Regions from separate parts of the Homo sapiens genome. Here regions 1, 2, 3, 4, 5 and 6 are each linked to region 7. Evidence: promoter capture Hi-C in 16 types of primary human blood cells and fetal thymus (Javierre and others, 2016). All regions are on one chromosome and are shown on one strand. Each heading gives the region's core, a stretch centred on a gene start or on the middle of the fragment in contact. The rest is flanking DNA. Distances are from core to core; before and after follow the strand shown. Region 1 overlaps LOC105371230 (a long non-coding RNA gene). Region 2 has its middle 62 kb from the start of CHD1L. Region 3 overlaps LOC102723321 (a long non-coding RNA gene). Region 4 overlaps LOC102723321 (a long non-coding RNA gene). Region 5 overlaps LOC102723321 (a long non-coding RNA gene). Region 6 overlaps LOC105371230 (a long non-coding RNA gene). Region 7 holds the start of BCL9 (BCL9 transcription coactivator).

Region 1 (2,842 bases), core at 226-2,725, 160 kb before region 7:
TGGGATTACAGGTGCATACCACCACACCCGGCTAATTTTTGTATTTTTTGGTAGAGACAGGGCTTCACCACGTTGGCCAGGCTGGTCTCAAACTCCTGACCTCAAGTGATCTGCCCACCTTGGCCTCCCAAAGTACTGGGATTACAGGTGTGAGCCACTGCACCTAGCAGAGAATTGCTTTTCTTGAGCTTTGGTGCAGTTACCCCTAATGAGTTCCATCCCAGTGCCTACAGTAAAGAGTTGTTACTGAAGACCCTTTTCATGATATTACACAAGATCTTCCTTATGGCGTGTCTTAAGATAATTTTCTTTCTGGTTTTAATATTAGGAATAAGTTGTTTTGCTGGTTTTCACCTCGTGACCCCTGTGGCTTGGGCACTTAATAAGCTCCCACCTTTTCAAGTGATCTCCGGGAAGCTTGGCATCAATTGGTGGCCCACCAGTAATCAAGAGTTGGAATCATTAGGGATACATTTTTGTATCCCCCTTGTTCCTCGTCCTTGTTTTTCCTTTCTTTTATTCATCTACCTTTAATTTAATCTTGATTAACTATATCTGTATACGCACTTTAAATTTTTTTAAAGCTATCCCTTACAGGAAGGAAAATCTTTTCTAGAATAAGGAAGAGGAGGAAAGAAGAAAAAAAGGAGAAGGTAAAGAAGGTCAGAGACTACTAAAAGTCCAAGGAAACCACGAAGGCCTAAGTCAGATAGAATGGCCAGTTCTTCATAAGCATGGGGTAATGTATAATGCATAGCAAAACAAACATCAAGAATAGAAACCTGTCAGATCAGAGCATCAGAGCTAGTCGGTTGCAGGAGTCATGAAGCATGATATGCTGTTAGGAGGAGCTCCAGAGAGCAGAGCCCCATATGAACCATAAGCAAGGACTGTTTGATCCTCACCCAGATTTCCAAGCTCAGCAAGAGAAAAGGAAGGAAAATAGAGGGGAAAAAAGGTCTTTTCTGTGTTGCTACTCATTATTAGGAATGATTTGGAAAGCCAGTTCATAATATTGTCCTAGAATTGAGCTTCTGCTTCTAATAGTGTCAGTGATCTTGTTATACCTATGGTGTTAAAATATGTATATTTATGTAGCACAGAAGTACTCAAATTCTCTGGCCTTTTAATACACAAATAACAATAGCTAAATTCCTATCAAGCATCCTCTAGGGCTGCAGAAAGTGCCTTTTATCAGGTTCGCCTCCTCAAGTACCTCCAGTGGTCACTGAGAAAACCTCCCCGGTTCCATAAACCCTCTCTGCTTGTCACGTGCCATCTCAGTCCGAGCCCTTGCCCCCCAGAATATTGAGGTGCCATGCTCCTGCTTTCACCTCTTGTTGTCTTGTAACTCCAGGAATACCAACTCCCTCTACATGTAGTGCCTTAAATATGCATATAGCCATGTTCCTTAGCTCCCCAAATGTGGCTAATCTGAATCTAATCTGGGTGTGTAATAAATGCCCTTGGAACAAAGACATACAACAGAGAGTAGCTGACAAATGCCATTATATCTCCATGCTCAGAATCTAGGCTCAATTTCCACCAGACCCAAAGATCTCCCTCATTTTCAGTCCAAAGCCCACCTCATTTCTCTGTCTCTGTAGAGCATCTATTGTCTTCCATTCTCTTACAGGGCACAGTGAGGCCCTATTCTGTAACAAAAATGGCCTATTCTGTACTAAATAAAACCATGTGGCACAACAAACAGTCCACATCCTCTCCAGTCTTTTATCTTGTGTGCAGTAAAGAGACAATAAGTCCTGTGCATCATACCTGCCATAACCTTGCCTCCTGCGTTCAGTGTGCAAATGCTTGAGCAAAACCCCTATGCATTTCATACACATAGAATGCTCAGAATACCACAGCTCAAATCCATGTGTAGAAAAAAATGTCCTAAATCTGAGGTCACACTCCAGATAATAGATCCAAATAGAATACTTAGCAGGTTTCCCCAAGGACAAGTGGATTCTTACCTTACATCTGCCTGACCAAAGAGATCACTTACAAGACTCTCTCAGAACAGAAGGGTCTCAAAACAAGAGAAGGATCTTAACACACTCCAGTATCCTCATCTGAGTGCAGATGCTGTTTACAGGCCTCTAGCTGGCAGTTTTCCCACTCCATTCAGGCAAAGATCAAGCCACTACTTGAAAACCTATGAATTACCACTCTATGACACCTTCATTGTGTCTATTCCTGATTCTGGTTCTAATCATGCACAAAACTTAAATATATAAAATGTCCAAATCAGCTGGTAAGCTAAATAATTATTGTCATTGCATTTTAGTGATATCACAGTGCCTGTGGTATCTTGTAATTTATGTTTTTTTCAATAGCAACTTGATCATTTTAGTTTGAGGTTGTGTCTCCATAAATAGTTGGGTTGAATATAAGAATAAGTAATTTTTTTTAACTTTCATAATAGGCAGCAACTGAATAATGAATCAATCCCTAAAAGAGAGTCACTCCAGTTATCCTGAAGACTAACTACGTGAGTTTAGTTGACATACGTCAGCCTTCTAAAGCTTGGACACTCCTGGGGTACTGATAAAATGGATCCTATGAAGCTGAAGACCAGTCTTCATATTTATGATGAGCTCCCAAAGCGTGGTCATGGCATGAGGACCTTCCTGGGCCATCATCATCCAGCTTCTCTTTGGCATCTCTTTAGCTATAGTGGCACACAGGTGCCACTTAAGGGGTACTTTTTGCTAAATAACAAGGACCTTGTTATCAAATGTAGCTTAAATGAATATTACTCTCACCTGTAGAAACCCTAAGACTTATTTTCAGCTCTTGGTCACTTGCTGCTGCTATTTTTGGCTATCATTTTTTGAGT
Region 2 (2,700 bases), core at 151-2,650, 240 kb after region 7:
TTGATTGGAATAGTTTCAGAAGGAATGGTACCAGCTCCTTCTTGTACCTCTGGTAGAATTCGGCTGTGAATCCATCTGGTCCTGGACTTAAAGTCTGTTTTATCAGAGACTAGGATTGCAAACCCTGCTTCTTTTGCTTTCCATTTGCTTGGTAAATATTCCTTCATCCCTTTATTTTGAGCCCATGTGTGTCTTTGCATATGAAATGGGTCTCCTGAATACAGCACACCGATGGGTCTTGACTCTATCCAATTTGCCAGTCTGCGTCTTTCAATTGGGGCATTTAGCCCATTTACGTTTATTGTTAATATTGTTATGTGTGAATCTGATCCTGTTGTCATGATGTTAGCTGGTTATTTTGCACATTAGTTGATGCAGTTTCTTCATAGTGTTATTGGTCTTTATATTTTGGCATGTTTTTGCAGTAGCTGGTACTGATTTTTTCCTTTCCATATTTAGTGCTTCCTTCAGGAATTCCTGTAAGGCAGGACTGGTGGTGACAAAATCCCTCAGCATTTGCTTGTCTGGAAAGGATTTTATTTCTCCTTCACTGATCAAGCTTAGTTTGTCTCGATATAAAATTCTGGGTTGAAAGTTATTTTCTTTAAGAATGTTGAATATTGGCCCCCACTCTCTTCTGGCTTGTGGCGTTTCCGCAGAGAGATCCACTGTTAAGTCTGATGGGCTTCCCTTTATGGGTAACCTGACCTTTCTCTCTGGCTGCCCTTAACATTATTTCCTTCATTTCAGTCTTGGTGAATCTCACAATTATGTGTCTTGGGGTTGCTCTTCTCAAGGAGTATCTTAGTGGTGTTGTCTGTATTTCCTGAATTTGAATGTTGCCCTGTCTCACTAATTTGGGGAAGTTCTCCTGGATAATATCCTGAAGTGTGTTTTCCAACTTGGTTCCATTCTCCATCACTTTCAGGTACACCAATCAATCGTAGGTTTGGTCTTTTCACATAGTCTCATATGTCTTGGGAGGCTTTGTTCATTCCTTTTCATTTTTTCTCTAATCTTGTTTTCACGCTTTATTTCACTAAGTTGATCTTCAATCTCTGATATCCTTTCTTCCGCTTGACCAATTTGGCTACTGATACTTGTGTATGCTTCATGAAATTCTCATGCTGTGTTTTTCAGTTTCATTGGGTCATTCATGTTCTTTTCTAAACCGGTTATTCTCGTTAGCATTTCCTATAACCTTTTATCAAGGTTTCTTAGCTTCCTTGCATTGGGTTAGAACATGCTCCTTTAGCTCAGAGGAGTGTTATTACCCACCTTCTGAAGCCTACTTCTGTCAATTCATCAAACTCATTCTCCATCCAGTTTTGGTCCCTTGCTGGTGAGGAGTTGTGATCCTTTCAAAGAGAAGAGGCATTGTGGTTTTTGGAATTTTCAGCATTTCTGCACTGGTTTTTCCTTATCTTCATGGATTTATGTACCTTTGATGTTTGATGCTGAGGACCTTTGGATGGGGTTTTTGCATGGACATCCTTTTTGTTGATGTTGATATTATTGCTTTCTATTAGTTTTCCTTCTAACAGTCAGGCCCCTCTTCTGCAGGTCTGCTGGAGTTTGCTGGAGGTCCACTCCAGACCCTGTTTGCCTGGGTCTGCAGAGCCTGCAGAGCCTGCAGAACAGCAAATATTGCTACCTGTTTCTTTCTCTCAAAGCTTCATCCCAGAGAGGCACAAGCCTTACTATGAATACTGCTGTAATAAACAAGTGAATGCAGGTTTTCCTTTGATATATTGCTTCATTTTCCTTTAGTAGATACCTAGTGGTGGGACTGCTAGATTAAATGGTAATTCTATTTGAGTTTTTTGAGAAATCTCCATGCTGTTTTCCATAGTGGTTGTACTAGTTTACATTCCCACCCACAGTGAATAAGAGTTCCCTTTTCTCTGCATTCTTGCCAGCATTTTTTTTTGTCTTTTTAATGGTAGCCATTCTGACTAGGGTAAGATATTATCTCATTGTGGTTTTGATTTGCATTTACCTGATGATTAGTGGTGTTAAGCATTTTTCTTTTACCTCTTGGCCATTTGTATGTCTTCTTTTGAGAGTTGTCTATTATGTCCTTTGTCCACTTTTTTATTCTTTTGTTGTTAACTGTTGAGTTGTTTGAGTTCCTTGTGTATTCTGGATATTAGTCACCTGTCAAATGAATGGCTTGCAAATATTTTCTCCCATTTAATAGGTTGTCTCTTCACTCATTTATTCTGCTGTAGAGAAGCTTTTTAGTTTAATTAAGTCCCATTTTTCTGTTTTTGGTTTTGTTCCCTGTGCTTTTGAGGTCTTAAGTCATACATTCTTTGCCTAGAACAATATCCAAGAGAGTTTTCCCTAGATTTGCTTCTAGTATTTTTATAGTTTTGGGTCTTATATTTAAAGTCTTTAATGCACTTTGAATTTACTTGGTGTATGGTGAGAGGTAAGGGGTCCAGTTTCATTCTTCTGCATGTGGCCATCCAATTTTCCCAGCACTATTTGTTGAAGATAGTCTTTTTTCCCCAGTGTAAGATCTTGTTGGCTTTGTTGAAGATCAGCTGGCTGCAAATACATGGCTTTATTTCTGGATCCTCTATTCTGTTCCATTGGTCTATGTGTTTATTTTTATACTAATACCATGATGTTTTGGTTACTATAGCTTTGTAACATATTTTGAAGTCAGGTTATGTGATGTCTCCAGTTTTGTTC
Region 3 (2,918 bases), core at 194-2,693, 220 kb before region 7:
AAAGACACTTATAGAGTGTCTGGCACATAGAAAGGTGTCAGTGAGTGTTATTTTATTTCCATTATTATTATTATCACCTAGATCCAAATTCTTTTTTTGTGTGTGTAACTGGGTAAACTAGAAGACGTAGTTGGGAATATCAAAGGATAACAAAGATTACTGAAGTAGCTGAGGATCAAGACCACTTTCTCATGCAATTCTCCCTACATACCCATTTTAAGGAGAAATTATTGGGGTGAGAGGAAATCAGAAAACATGTACACAAATTAATAAGGTACAAAAGACTTCTGACATAAAGGTTATGCTTGGTGCTTTGCTTTATAAAGCTACCTTGATGTCTGACATGGCAGAGGAGCTCGATAAGCACTTTCTGAACTAAACTGCACTGATATGATACTATTTCTCAGGCAGCCTTTCAGTGAGGCCCTTTGGGTCCTTTCACAACAGAATTTTCTTAATTGGGAAGCAAATGAACTCTGCCCTGCACCACATTCCACTGTATGGTGAGTGGAATTATAGCATGGGCCCAGGGGGTTGTTATTATTACTATGAATAACAACCTTTATGGAGAACCAGAGATCTGTTAGATACTGTCCAGAACATGTGTCGTTGTCCAGAATTAGACTCAGACTCTGTGGAGTGGTCTTGTCATCTAATTTTGACAAGCTTGGATAAGTTCCCCAGTACTATGAGGGGAGGAGGCAGTGAGAGAGTAGTCCACAGTGATGGAATTTCTGCTTGAGACACATTCATTCCTGCTGAGAGAACGGCTCTGTCACAGGTAGAAGAAACACTCAGTGGCTTCCATCTCCCTGGTGTTCTGGTCACCATCGTCATTGGGCAGGTGTCCCTATGCCAGCTTCCCAGGCAGGCCCCTCCACTGACATGCAGCATGGCCCCAACGTGTTGCTTGGCCTCTGTGTGCATTCTCATCCTTTTCTTCAGCAACCGGTAAATAATTGCCTTGATCAATTTGGCATTAGGTGTTTTGAGAGACCTAAATGCTATCAATTCATCCATCGTTGTTTTTATAAAGTACATACCACACTGTGCAGGGTGTGGTATTGAGCACTAAGGGGTTTGGGGTGGAGGGAATTTCAGGAGGATAATACAATGATGAACAGAAAAGCAGTTTGTCTTCAAAGAGCTCAGGGTTGAGTGGGAGAGAGAATACATGGCCTGTAGAGCAACTAATTCTCAGGTGTGTGAGACCTCCAAGGCTTTACAGTTCAGCCCAAGGCCCAGCTGCTGACTTGGGGGACACAGAAATTATTGTAAAATACTATATTAGAAAGGCTATTATGTGTGACTCCACAGGACAGAACTGGAATCAAGAGAAAGAAGAGAATTTTCAAGGCATCCCTATGGTAGGGCCTCACTCACTAGCAATATACCTTCTTAAGCAGGAGAGACGAGGGTGCAGTCACAGCAAGTGTGCTGGGAGGTACCTGTCATCTGCAGCCTACCTAGTTGATGCTGCAGCCACTACTAAAAGACTGCTACAAGCATGGACATTACTAATTGTGCAGTCCTTTACATCCCCAACCCCATTTGGAGGCTTCAGATTAGGCCCTCAGGAGCAAATAATGGACTAAGCATGGCCTATCATGTGGGTTGAGAATGACTCCAAACTCCTAGGCATGGCTGTTAAAGCCCTCCACAATCTGCTCCTGCCTGCTATGCAGACTCTCCTTCCATGCTCTGCTCATTGTACTCTAAAACCATGCTGGTTTTCATTTCAATGAATTTGTTCATGCAGTCTTGCCTTTGTCTGAAATCCCCTCATCTCTTCTGCAACTCCTCCATCCACTCCACACCCCTACAGACATCACATACCCCTAACTCCTACACCAGAGTTATCTCCACTGGGAAGTCCTCTCGAAGGTCTAAGAATTGATGAGCTCCACTCTTGGAGGGGAGATGGAATGAAACTTTCTGGCATGCACCAGACTTGAACAGAAACTCTGGAATGAAGCCCTGGTTCTTCCCCCATTAATTGTTTATTTGAACGAATCACTTTTATATGTTTCCTCCTCTGCAAAACACAGGCAATAACAATCACCCCACAGAGTGGTTATGAGGATTCATTCATTCAACAATAAAAATTGAATGTCTATAACATTCTGAAGGTATTCGGTCTTGAACAGAACAAATATGATCCTGCTCTCTTGGAACCAACAAGAGAATGTAGAAGCACATTTTGAACAGTATGTAAGCTTTTATTTTTATTTATTTATTGTGAGGTTTTATTTTTACTGCTGACCTTAAGAAGAAAGACTTGAGCCTCCTTAGGACCTCTTTGCAATCTTACTGCTAGCCAAACATTTTCTTCAATCATTAAGAAAGCATTTATTGTGTACCAAATGAGAGAACCTAATGCAATAAGAATGCAAAGTAGAAGACAGGGCTTTTAACTTTGAGAAGCATACTACCCATTTGAGAGAAAAAGCTGTTAAATACTTGACAGAAGGAATCATGCCTGACTTTATTAATTTTTTTTTTTTTTTTTTTTGAGACGGAGTCTCACTCTGTTGCCTAGGCTGGAGTGCACTGACGTGATCTCAGCTCATTGCAACCTCCACCGCCCGGATTCAAGCAACTCTCCTGCCTCAGCCTCCTGAGTAGCTGGGATTACAGGTGCCCACCACCACACTGGGCTAATTTTTGAATTTTATTAGAGATGGGGTTTCACCATGTTGGCCAGGCTGGTCTTAAACTCCTGACCTCAGATGATCTGCCCGCCTCGGCCTTCCAAAGTGCTGGAATTACAGGCATGAGCTACCACACCCGGCCGATTTTATTAATTTAATAGACACCATTGAGTGCCCAGTGTGTGTCAGGCCTTGCACCTCTTTGGTACTGTTCTCATTACTCAGAACAGTGGTAGGCACATAAAGGGGACTCAGCAAAGTATCTGC
Region 4 (2,727 bases), core at 145-2,644, 250 kb before region 7:
TTAATTTAATAATTAGGCATTATTAAAATCTTACAGACGAGACCGAGGCACAGACAGGTCATGTAATGCTTTCAAAGTGACACAGCTGGAGGTGCTGGAGGCAGGATTTAATTCTGGCAGCCTGACTCCAAACTTTCATTGTGAATCATGATGGAGTGCAACCTCTTGTAGTAGAGTTTCACATCAGGTTTTCACTATTTGTGAGAAATTGGCCTCTCTGCTTTTCTTCATTTTATTTCATTCTCAAACTTTTATAGGACTTGGAATCTTTTCTTTGTTGTCTTTCAAGTTATACTTTGATAGGCATTTTTTTTTCTCTCAGAATTTTGTCATTTGGTTGTATCCTGTTCAGGAACTATTTGTTCTCCTATGTTTCTGTTGCACTCAGTCCTTTGTTATATCTTTTCTGTTGTCTTTTTGCTCCTTGCTTTTTTTCTTTTTGAGACAGGGTCTCACTCTTGCCCAGGCTGGAGTGCATTAGTGCAATCTCGGTTCACTGCAACCTCCACCTCCGGGGCTCAAGCAATCCTCTCACCTTAGCCTCCTGAGTAGCTGGGACCACAGGCACATGCCACCATGCTCAGCTATTTTTTTTTAATTTTACTTTTGGTAGAGGTGGGGTTTCACCATGTTGCCCAGGCTAATCTCGAACTCCTGGACTCAAGCAATCTGCCTGCCTCAGCCTCCCAAAGTACTGGGATTATAGGTGTGAGCCACCACACCCGGCCTCCTTGCTTTGTTTCATCTTCTCCTTGCAATAACCAAGAGGGTTAGGATGGAAACTAGAATGTAGAATTCCTGGGTCAGAAGACACCTCGGGAGTCCTCTCTTTCCCTTCTAGCAAGACCAAGCCCTGAGAGAGCATCTGTGGGTTTTATCTCTTAGCATCCATTCCCCTTCTTCATCAACATCAACATTTTGTCTTAGGGAGCCTATCCTTTCCATTTTGATATTAGAGCAAACATGGTGGCAACCACACTGCCTCACGTTGAATGACAGCTAACATTCTCTGTCTCAGTTTCTTAGCTATAATAGTAGCTATCTCATAGGGTGTCTGTGAGAAGAAAATACATGCAGATGTGGTGCTTAGAACAGTGGCTGGTAGAGAATAAACACCATAAATATTAGCGATTTTTATTGTCGATCTTTCCCAAGGCTAGGCCAAGGGAATGTTCTTTCCCTGGAACTTGAATCTTAAGCAGAATGGCAAAAAGACAGAAATCCATTAGAGCTGATTTATTTGGGTAATTGTGCCCTAAAGAAACGGTTAATCAGTTCCTGCTCCCTGGATCCTAGGGCAGTCCTTGTTTCTGGTCCTTCTTGAATTTGAATCTTCAGCTGTTTATTTTTTCTGCACCCCACTTCCAACAAATGCCCCTTTTTTTGCCTCTTCCTCCTCCTCACTTTCCTCTTCACCTTTCTTCTCCTTTTTTTTCCTGTCCTCCTCCCTCAACCCCATCTTCTCTTCTTCCTCTTCCTTCTTTTTATTTTTTAGCTTAAAGTTGTTACATTTGGTTTCTGATGCTTGCTGCCAAAGAACTTTTACCGAGTCAGCATCCCTTGAAAATGGCCCCTCAGCCTTGGTTTAAATATCTTCATAAAACAGCAACCCCCTTTTAATTGGTAAACTCTTATTCTTAGAAAGTACTTCCTCACATTAGGCCAAAAAAATCTTTATAGGACTCTGACGCCAGAACGTTTGGATTTGGAGCCTGGCTCAATTGTTTACTTGCTACGTGGCTTGGACACGTTGTTTAACCTCTGTGCCTTGGTTTCCTCATCTGTAAAACAGAGGATAATAATAGTAACCACTTCATGGTATTGTTGTGAGGATTACATGTCATAACATTTGTAAAGAACAGTGCCTGATAAGAGTAAGTTAATGTGAGCCCTCTTCCTCCCCGTCCTCACTCAGATCCCAGTTCCATCCTTCTGAGCTGCCCAGAATAAGTCAAATCTTCCTTTTCATGCCAACTTTTTGAAAACCGAGATGCCATATTCATATCCCTCTTTCCCCCAGGCTCGATATGCCCTGCTTCCCCCTGACCCATCTGGAGACCTCTTCCCTGTGAGGCCAAGCCCTTCTTGGAAAGATCCAAACCTGTCTTCAACTTTCCTGCCTCTTTAGTTTACTAAAAGTGAAATACAAACAAGCATTTTATAAGGCTTTGTGTTAAAGTTTACCCAACTCACCCAGCCCTAGACACTCCAGACTCTTGGAGCCTATCCCACTGCCCAGGCCTGAGGGTAGAGCCTGGGGTCTGGAGGATGGCACAGGAAGGCATACGGGCAGAATGCAGGGGGCAAACCATTTCCCCTTCCCCTGGCCCGTTCCATCCAGGGTTGTGCAGAAGCTGACCAGACACATTTCCTGCACTTGGCTTGTCCTGCCCCAGACCTATGGCATGACTCTGTGCTAAGCTGTGTCTGGTTGTTGACATGCCAGTGACAAGGCTGAATAATTTCCACTCATAGGAAGAGGCTTCACTGCATGGAGAGCAAGAGTCTAGTTGATAATAACATCACTTGCCTGGCACATTGCAGCTTGGAACACATTTGTTCATCACAATATTTTAATGAATTTGTCACAGTCAGAAAGCCTTTTTACAAAAAGGGGCACCCTTTTTATACATGAGAACATTAAGGCTTGGAGACATTAAGGGACTTGCCCAGAATCACACAGCCACCAAGTGACGCAACTTCCATTGGAGTTGAGTTCAGTGTTTT
Region 5 (2,708 bases), core at 72-2,571, 200 kb before region 7:
CTCTGGCCCTGATGTTCTTTGTAGTAACCATGGCTGCCCTACCTCTGATGGCTAAGTGTTGCCTCTTCCACTCCAGGATCCAAACATCTCCTGTGAAATCAGGGAGCTCATTTCAATTGCATCATCTCCTACCTGCAATGCCAGCCTAAAATAATCTAGTTTACAGATGGATTTGTATAATATTCTGGCACCAGCAGTAAGCGGACTGCTCTTACAGCTCTACTTCAGGGGTGACCCTGCAGGACGGTAGAGAAGGGAAATCCTTCCACTATGCAGAGCTTTGAGTGGTATTTGTCATGGTGCACTTTGTGTGGAAGGACAAATGACCTGAGATCTGGATCTAAGCCAATTCATGGACAAGGGCTAATGGTTTGGTTAAGCAGTCAGGAACTTGGAAGGAATAAACTTCATGGATTTGTGACAAGGAGTTTTGGGGAAAATACATATAAACAAACTAATCATAATGGGTGAAAATATATTTATTCCATGAGAATGTTCTCCCAAAGGTGTCCACAGTGTAGGAGACTCTCAAATAGTGTACAAGATTTCATGCCATATGAATGTCAGTCAACCTCTTTCCCACTCACCGCAGTATTTTTCTCAGTGAGTTTATGAACATCACCATGGTGGTAGGATTAAGATCATAGATAAGCTCAACAAGTACTTTCCTTTACTGAGGCTGATCTGACCACACCACTGCTGAGTATTCAATTTCTTAGAGGCAGTGACTAACCTTGAAACCTTTAATCTAGTACCATGGCCTAGAGGTCTCAGTCTAGCACTTGCCTGGAAGGCTGATTACATTGGATTCCTTTTCATGGAGGGGGCAACAATTTGGTTCTCATTGGAGCAGATATTTATCTGGATATGGATTTGCCTTCTCTGTCCGCCATGCTTCTGTCAGGAACATCACTTACGGGTTTAACAGATGCTTGATTCACCGTCATGGAATCTTTTGTTTTGTTTTGTTTTTGAGACAGAGTTTCACTCTGTCACCCAGGCCAGAGTACAGTGGCACCACCACAGCTCACTGCAGCCTTGACCTCCTGGGCTCAGTCTTCCCACCTCAGCCTCCCTAGTAGCTGGGACTATAGGTGAGCACCACCATACCCAGCTAATTTTTTTTTTTTTCTAATTCTAGGCTCAAGCCATTAGTCCGCCTTGGCCTCTCAAAGTGCTGGGATTACAGGCGTGAGCCACCATGCCCAGCCTGTCATGGAGTCTTACATGTAATTGTTTCTAGCATCACCATAATGCTAAACCAACTGCATAATTACCATAATGCTGTAACAACAGCAATGACAACAACAAAATTCAGTGGTTTAACAAAATGAAAATTTATTTCTTGTTCATGTAATTGTCCAAAGTATATATTTCTGATTTGCAGTATCCCTTCATGTGGTGTTTAGGGGCCATCTTTTGGCTCTAGTATTCCTTAGAAGCTGAACATTCCCAGCATTCAGATGACAGACAGGAGAAGAGAATGTGGATCATCCCCATCAACTTCTTAAAAATCAAAGCCTGGAAGTGATACACATCACTTCTACTCATATTCCATTGGGGATAGCTAGTTACACAAATGGAAGGGATGCTCAGAAATAGTCAATCCCAATGTCAATTCTATATGAATATTTGGTGAACAGCTAGTCATCTAGGTCTAATGTTATCTGTGTGCCAGGCAAATGCATTATGGTAATTATGCATTTGGTTTAGCATTATGGTGATGCTTGAAACAATTACATGTTAGACTCCATGACAAGCTGGCAATGGTGGCTCACACCTGTAATCCCAGCACTTTGAGAGGCCAAGGCAGGTGGATGGCTTGAGCCTAGGAGTTAGAGATCAGCCTGGCCAAGATGGCAAAACCCCATCTATACAAAAAAAATACAAAATTGATCACCAAATATCAGTGGATACCTTTCTTCCCATACTTAAACACTTAGAACATAAACACACACCACGAAATAAAAAATCTCATTCAGCCACCACATCCAGCTCAAAGTCTAGGATCTCTGAGAGGTGTGCAGTTCTTTTTGGCAAGTCTGGATCTACCTCCTTATGGTCTGGAGACTTAGAAACTCAAAACAACTATCTGTGTTCCACTAATCACCACCCAAAATACAACATGGAGGTAGAAACACAGGAATAGTACAGGACATTCTAAAGTCCTCTTTCGGGAAGGGAAGAATGGGAGCTACAGAGCAGTCTCTTGTCCATCACAATGATGAAATCTTGCTTGAATAGGCACGATAAAAACTGCCTGCTCCAATATGAGGGGAAATTTCTGGATTAGATCTTAATTCTGATCTCTGGTGGAATTTCCTTGTCCATTGTTCTCCCTGGTACCTGGCTCCACCTTTGGCAGATTCTTCCGTGTACACTTTCCTCCATGGTCTCATCTGAAATGAACATCGTTGAGTTGGCCTTCCTTGGAACTACACAACATTCACAGCCTGCTTCCTGCTAGTGCAGATTTGGAGCCCTGAGAGCTGTTTTATATTTCAGGGTATTTTTTATTTATTTTAGCCAGGATTATGATTTATCTGCCAACACAATTCTCTCAAAGACAGTAGGCTTCTAATCTATTTGCTTCCAGTCAATTGCATGTGCCAGTAGCCCAAAAGTCTTTCCTAGACACAAGTCTTAGTACTGTCCTATTTCTTTGTTTCCTCACCCTCATGCCTCTCTCAACTCATCTGAGGCTACCC
Region 6 (2,889 bases), core at 390-2,889, 180 kb before region 7:
TATCCATAAAACTTTCAAATATTTTATTTATTTATTCATGTATTTTATTGTAAACACAATTAATCTTGTTTTTTCCCTATGCTTAACAAGACCAGTGCCTTGAGAGAGCAACACATAGTTATGAACACAATAATGGATATATTTACAGCATAAATTGTTAGTATAAAATGAAAATATTTGTCCTTTGTCTACTTGACAAATCTGTTTGTCAAATCAAACCTATTCCTGTGGCATATTGGAAGCATATTCAATTTTAAAAAATACTTTTATGCCTTACATAACTAAAAATGGGTGATTTATAGAAATTCTAAAATTATTTTTTAAGACAAATTAAAAATGCTTGTAAATAGAACTTCTTACCTGTTAACTATTAATATCTAAAATAACAGCTTGTTTTTCATGATTACTGAATGTCTGTCCAATCATTGGCTAAATAGTCTCCTGAGAACCACACACCCCTGAATCCTGGGGAAAATAAATATTTTTATTTTAAGTAAAGTGATGACTTGTAACAGTGCCAGATTTTTCTCACTCTGGCCCAATACTAGTTTCTCTTCGTTTTCACCTTTCCCCCACTCAAGTCCAGCCACCTCTGATAATGAGTGTTCACAAGTTTGTCATATGGCTCTCTATGCCTTCGAAGCCCTTTGTAATTAGGCTAAAACTTACTTCAAGGCCCAGCCTCAATGTCACTTCCTCTGTGAGGTGGCCCCAGTAACCCACAACGGAATTAGCCATTCCCTTCCCTGTGTTGCCTGGTACTCCTGTGGCACTTTTCACCCAGGGGTGCGTATTTCCCTATGTGACTTCTTTGGTTTCAGAACTCCTTGAAGACAAGGACCATGACATATTTGCCATTGTATTCCTACACATGCTTGGCATATGGTAGGTGTGTAATAAATATTTCTTTCATGGACTTATTGAATCATTTCTGGTCTGCATTCAGCATATTTTTTTATATCTCTACTAACTAATGATGCCCAGCCAGTACAGAGGAAGTGGACCCCCACCTCACACAGCAGAAGCCGTTTGTCCTAACTTCTTTGTTAGGTCTGCTTCCGTGGCAACAGCAAGCAGACTTTACCTCCCCCAGATCCCTTTGATTCTCTGTTTACTGCTCCATCTCTTTTTGTGTTTCCCTAGGAGTGAGAATGAGAACAAAACCTCTGTAATGCATATGATTTGCAAAGACTTATCTGCTAAAAAACATTTTTGTAAAAATTCAGTTAAGCTTACCTTATTATATACTTCAGTAGCCCTCCCAGCAATGCCTAGCACAGCTCCTGGCTCAAAATAGATTGGATCAATTAATACGTGGTTTTGTCAGTGCTATAAAATTTCCAAGGAAGTTAAAATATTTCAGATGGCAAAAATGATACATTATTGGGATATCATTTTCATGGGTACATACATGGGACTGGAGAGGTTAAATGCTAGGAAATGCTGTGCTTCCCATGTCATTACCAACAACCCTCACAAGCTACTGAGAGTTTTGCTTTTTGTTGTTGTTGTTTGTTTTGTAGAGATGGGGTCTTACTATGTTGCCCAGGCTGGTCTTGAACTCCTGAGCTCAAGCGATCCTTTCACCTCGGCCTCTCAAAGTGCTGGGATTACAGGCATGAGCTACCACATCCAGCCTACTGGGAGTTTTGACATATTTACTGTGGTAAACTTGTTTCATAAACTCAGTAAAGATAGACTTCAACCCAACCCCGGTGAAAGTAACCCCAATTTTGAATGATAGCATCAAAATGGAGGAAGACTGTACTAAACACAGAGCTGCAGCCAGCCCTAACATGCCCCTTTTGTATGGACCTCCAACCTCCAGCTCGCATCAACTCACTATTGACACAAGGAGATCATAGATTTAGAACATTTTTGCAGTGGAAGGGACTTGAGAAATCATCTAGTGAAATTCTTCCAGCCCAGAGACCTTAGATGCTCAGGTTTACACTAAAGGGCCAATGGCAGAGCCAGTGCTATTTTCAATATTTCAAAAAAGTCTAGTGGAAATCGTGCGTTTACTAGCAATTATACAAAAGCTTTTGAAAAGGCAGGCTTATTCACGTTTGCTTTAGTTAAGGTTTTGTCAATTCTGTGTTACAAAATTCCTTTCTCTTGCTGATTTAAGTCTTTGAGTAATAAAGGATGGAAAATGATCTATCTGTTGAGTATCTATACAAGGGAAAGGCAATCAGCACCTCATAGGGATAGCTGCACTCCCATATTAATTCACAAGAGCCAAGATATGGAAACAACTTAAGTGCTCATTGATGGATGAATGGATTTTTAAAATGGATATATATGTATATATGTATATGGATATATATGTATATATGTATATGGATATATATATATGTATATGGATATATATATGCACAGACACACACACACACACATGCACAATGGAGTATTATTCTGTCTTTAAAAAGAAGGTATTGCCATTTGTGACAATACGGATAAATGCGGAGGGCATTATGCTAAGTGAAATAGGACAGACATAGAAAAATACTGTATAACCTTACTTATATACAGAACCTAAAAAATATGTTAAGTTAAAAAAATAGAAACAGTAGATGAGTGGTTACCAGGAGTGGGGAGGGAGGAAATGGGGATAAGCAGGTCAAAGGGTAGGAATTTGCAGTTAGGTAGAATGACTAAGAGACCTAATGTACAGCATGAGGACTATAGTAATAATGCATTATTGTACTGTGTACTGAAAATTCACTGAGAGAGTAGATTTTAGGGGCTCTTACCACAAAAAAAGGATGGGGGTAACTATGGAGAGTGGTGGATGTATTAATTTGTTTGACTGTAATAATTATTTTACTATGTATATGTACATCAAAACATCATGTTGTTTACCTTAAATATATACAATAAAAATAA
Region 7 (2,700 bases), core at 3-2,502:
AAAGGGGAAAACCCAACCCCTCCCACCCCATTCTCTGTACAAATCGGCCAATAAATCTAACGAAAAGACACAAGAGAAAAAGGACAGAAGCCAACAGGTGGAACAAGGCTTTTTGTTTCCTTAGAAATGCTCAGACACTTGATCTGTGCTCCTCAGTCTATTTGTCTCAGGGTGTCTTTAATGATGTTTTTATTACCCTGATGATGATGATCAAGAATAATGATAACACTTCTACTCTGTGATTCCACAGCATCTCTAGCTGACGATTTCTCCACGCGTTTCAGACACAGTGATCTGTTCTGTTTCGCTCAATCCCAGGGAGGCATACAGCATCCCTGATCAGCAACCTTGATTTTACAGATGGGGAAATTGAGGCACGGGGCACCCCACAACTCAACAGTCTCTACGACCAGAGGAATCCCTGAGACTGGAAAAGTTTCTGGATCGTCTTGTGGCAGAGTTCTCTTGCTCTCCCTTCTTGCCTGCCATGCCGCTCCTCCTCGGAGAGTCTGGGCTGGGGTGGTAAGGATCGGGGTGCCTCCCCTTCACAGCGAGGCACGCCAGGGCAGTGTGTGGGAAGTCCACACGCACACACAGACCCACGGGCACACTGGCACACACAAAGCTCGATGCAATCTCTGCAGTCACTCGGCGGAGCCCTGGCCGGCCCTTGCTCAGCCTGAGAATGCACAGCTCGGAGCCTGCAAGGCCTCCCTGGGCTCTGGGCTGGGGTTTCCCTGAACCAAGGCTCTGCCCTTCTCTCCCTCTTTTCCAGGCTTCCCTCTCTCGCGCTCCCTCTCTCTCTCTCTTTTCCCTCCCACCCTCACACCCTCCTCCCAGCCCTCTCCATCCACCCCTTCTCCCCCACCAACCCAGAGGCACAGATCGTGTTACTGGGGTTCCCTCGAAAGAGGGGCCATCCCCAGTCCTGGATGCCTTGAAAGACTTCCAGGGGCAACGCAGGAGCTCCAATCGCAGGACCCCAGCGCTCCTCCAGAGCAGCGCAGGAATGAGACCCCCACTTCCAGGCACAGGCGAACAAGCCTGCCACCGAAGAAGGAATTGTTAGGGCTCTTACCTTTTTTATGAGGAGAAATTCTGGAGAATCATTTCAGAAACTGAGGGGGGAAAGTGAATGAAGACAAAAAAGACCCTTTTCCCGCAATCCCTGGCCTCCTGGTATCAAGACACCAGGACAACATCAAAGCAACTTAGGGGGAACACTTTAGGGGCCTATTGTCTGCTCTGGTCTGATCTGTTTTTCTTCTGACTCCCCCTCTTGCTGCGGTGACACTTGGTACGGCCCAGGCATTCATGCCAAGTAGCTTTCACACATGGAAGCTTGTCTCAAGCAATTGCTGACAAGCCACAAACAAGACATTCTCCCTCCCTTCTCTGCGCCCCCCCACTCCTCCCCCCTCCACCTTTTCCTCCTCCCCTCTTGTCTCCCCTCCTCCTTTCTTCTGAATGCAAACTAAAACTCTCCAGTGACAGGCAGGCTCGCAGGCTTGGCCTAGCTGCGCACGCAGGCACACACACACACACACACACACACACACACACACACACACACACTCTCTCTCTCTCTCTCTCTCTCTCTCTCTCTCTCTCTCTCTCTCTCTCTCTCTCTCTCCTCTCTCTCTCTCTCTCTCTTCTCTCTCTCTCTCTTCTCTCTCTCTCTCAAGCAGCTCAGCTAGTTGCTGCTGCACTGGTGGAGTTAAGAGACAGGAAAAAGCCCAGGCTGAGTTGGGGGCAGGGAGAAAAAGAGAGGGAGAGCGAGAGCAGAGAGCCGCCTCCTGTGTCCTAGTAAAATGGCAGAAGAGAGGTGAGTCCTTTGGAAGAAAAGCAGTGGCCACACACGTGTGCACACATACACAGACTCAGGCCATCTCAGCGCCAGGAAAAGTGAAATAAATGACCCGACAAAGGAAAAAGCAAAGTCCCATTAGCTGGAGATTGGGGGAGTAGGGAGATAAGAGGGTGAGTGGCCCCAGGACTGGGGTTTCTGTTGAGTGGTTAGGTGATTTTTCTTCTTTACAATAGAGAAAAATTTGTTTCCTAAGGATCTAGCCTTCTTTCACTGCATAATTGAGCATGGACTTGAGCTACTAGTTAAAATAAAATCATGAAATGTGTAAATGTGTGAGTAAACTTAACTGTAGGTTCAACTTGTACCCAAGATATTTTTAAAGTGAAGCTTTTTTTATTTTTTTTTATTTTTTATTTTAGCAGAAACCCTAGAGAGCAGTAGCAAGGAGAGTAGTAACAAGTAGTGTAAACTAGGAGAGCTGTGAAGTGTGATGCTAAAGTTACTGATTGCCAGGCTGCTGGAATTTATGGAGGGTGGGCCTGAGAGTTGGAGGAGGGGAGGGTGAGTGTGCTGTTTTCTAGGAATAAGAGGGGAATGAGGTAGGATAATGAATATGGCAAGAAACAAGCAGGAATTTGATTGGTGTGGAGGGAGGAGGTGGGGGCTGTAAAGGAGTGGAGAGAGAGAGAGAGAGAGAGAGAGAGAGAGAGAAACAACACTGCATTAAAAAAAGAAGAAAAATGGAAGCCCAGAAAGATTGAAACATGCAGAGTAAATGAGATGGTAAAAGAAGGCATAAAATGTGAGCAAAAAGGAGCACAAAGGATGTGCAAATTTGCAGATGGCATGAAATCAGGAGGGCCAATTGAGATCAGGAAGAAGAATGACAG

Evidence for each region. The method cuts DNA at HindIII sites, captures the fragments that hold promoters and counts their contacts. A CHiCAGO score of 5 or more calls a contact.
Region 1: a contact is called between a fragment that was not itself captured here and the fragment with the promoter of BCL9 in region 7, in 3 of 17 cell types (neutrophils, naive CD4 T cells and monocytes). The highest score is 5.8, in neutrophils.
Region 2: a contact is called between a fragment that was not itself captured here and the fragment with the promoter of BCL9 in region 7, in 2 of 17 cell types (erythroblasts and neutrophils). The highest score is 6.7, in erythroblasts.
Region 3: a contact is called between a fragment that was not itself captured here and the fragment with the promoter of BCL9 in region 7, in 1 of 17 cell types (neutrophils). The highest score is 6.6, in neutrophils.
Region 4: a contact is called between a fragment that was not itself captured here and the fragment with the promoter of BCL9 in region 7, in 1 of 17 cell types (neutrophils). The highest score is 5.1, in neutrophils.
Region 5: a contact is called between a fragment that was not itself captured here and the fragment with the promoter of BCL9 in region 7, in 1 of 17 cell types (neutrophils). The highest score is 5.9, in neutrophils.
Region 6: a fragment that was not itself captured here is called in contact with the fragment with the promoter of BCL9 in region 7 in 3 of 17 cell types (neutrophils, megakaryocytes and erythroblasts); the score reaches 7.2 in neutrophils.

The regions. Positions count from the first base shown.
Region 1 is chr1:147,702,016-147,704,857 of GRCh38, reverse strand. The region is part of intron 2 of LOC105371230 (a long non-coding RNA gene); the gene reads left to right. The region is part of intron 1 of LOC102723321 (a long non-coding RNA gene); the gene reads right to left. Among named protein-coding and RNA genes, the nearest start is that of ACP6, 33 kb to the right of the region's middle. The HindIII fragment of the contact is 2,111 bases long and covers 420-2,530 here.
Region 2 is chr1:147,303,584-147,306,283 of GRCh38, reverse strand. No RefSeq gene overlaps it. Among named protein-coding and RNA genes, the nearest start is that of CHD1L, 62 kb to the right of the region's middle. The HindIII fragment of the contact is 1,677 bases long and covers 562-2,238 here.
Region 3 is chr1:147,764,418-147,767,335 of GRCh38, reverse strand. All of the region lies in intron 1 of LOC102723321 (a long non-coding RNA gene), which reads right to left. It also overlaps a transcript of GJA5 not described here. Among named protein-coding and RNA genes, the nearest start is that of GJA5, 5.3 kb to the right of the region's middle. The HindIII fragment of the contact is 1,550 bases long and covers 669-2,218 here.
Region 4 is chr1:147,787,662-147,790,388 of GRCh38, reverse strand. LOC102723321 (a long non-coding RNA gene) reads right to left here. Exons shown (of 3, transcript XR_922079.4): 3 at 699-1,781. Among named protein-coding and RNA genes, the nearest start is that of GJA5, 28 kb to the right of the region's middle. The HindIII fragment of the contact is 8,318 bases long and covers 1-2,727 here.
Region 5 is chr1:147,741,904-147,744,611 of GRCh38, reverse strand. The region is part of intron 1 of LOC102723321 (a long non-coding RNA gene); the gene reads right to left. Among named protein-coding and RNA genes, the nearest start is that of GJA5, 17 kb to the left of the region's middle. The HindIII fragment of the contact is 7,001 bases long and covers 1-2,708 here.
Region 6 is chr1:147,724,527-147,727,415 of GRCh38, reverse strand. The region is part of intron 2 of LOC105371230 (a long non-coding RNA gene); the gene reads left to right. The region is part of intron 1 of LOC102723321 (a long non-coding RNA gene); the gene reads right to left. Among named protein-coding and RNA genes, the nearest start is that of GJA5, 35 kb to the left of the region's middle. The HindIII fragment of the contact is 811 bases long and covers 1,234-2,044 here.
Region 7 is chr1:147,540,053-147,542,752 of GRCh38, reverse strand. It overlaps BCL9 (BCL9 transcription coactivator), which reads right to left and starts at 1,252. Exons shown (of 10, transcript NM_004326.4): 1 at 1,079-1,252. RefSeq lists enhancers at 1,207-1,266, 827-1,581, 1,300-1,594. The HindIII fragment of the contact is 5,169 bases long and covers 1-1,343 here.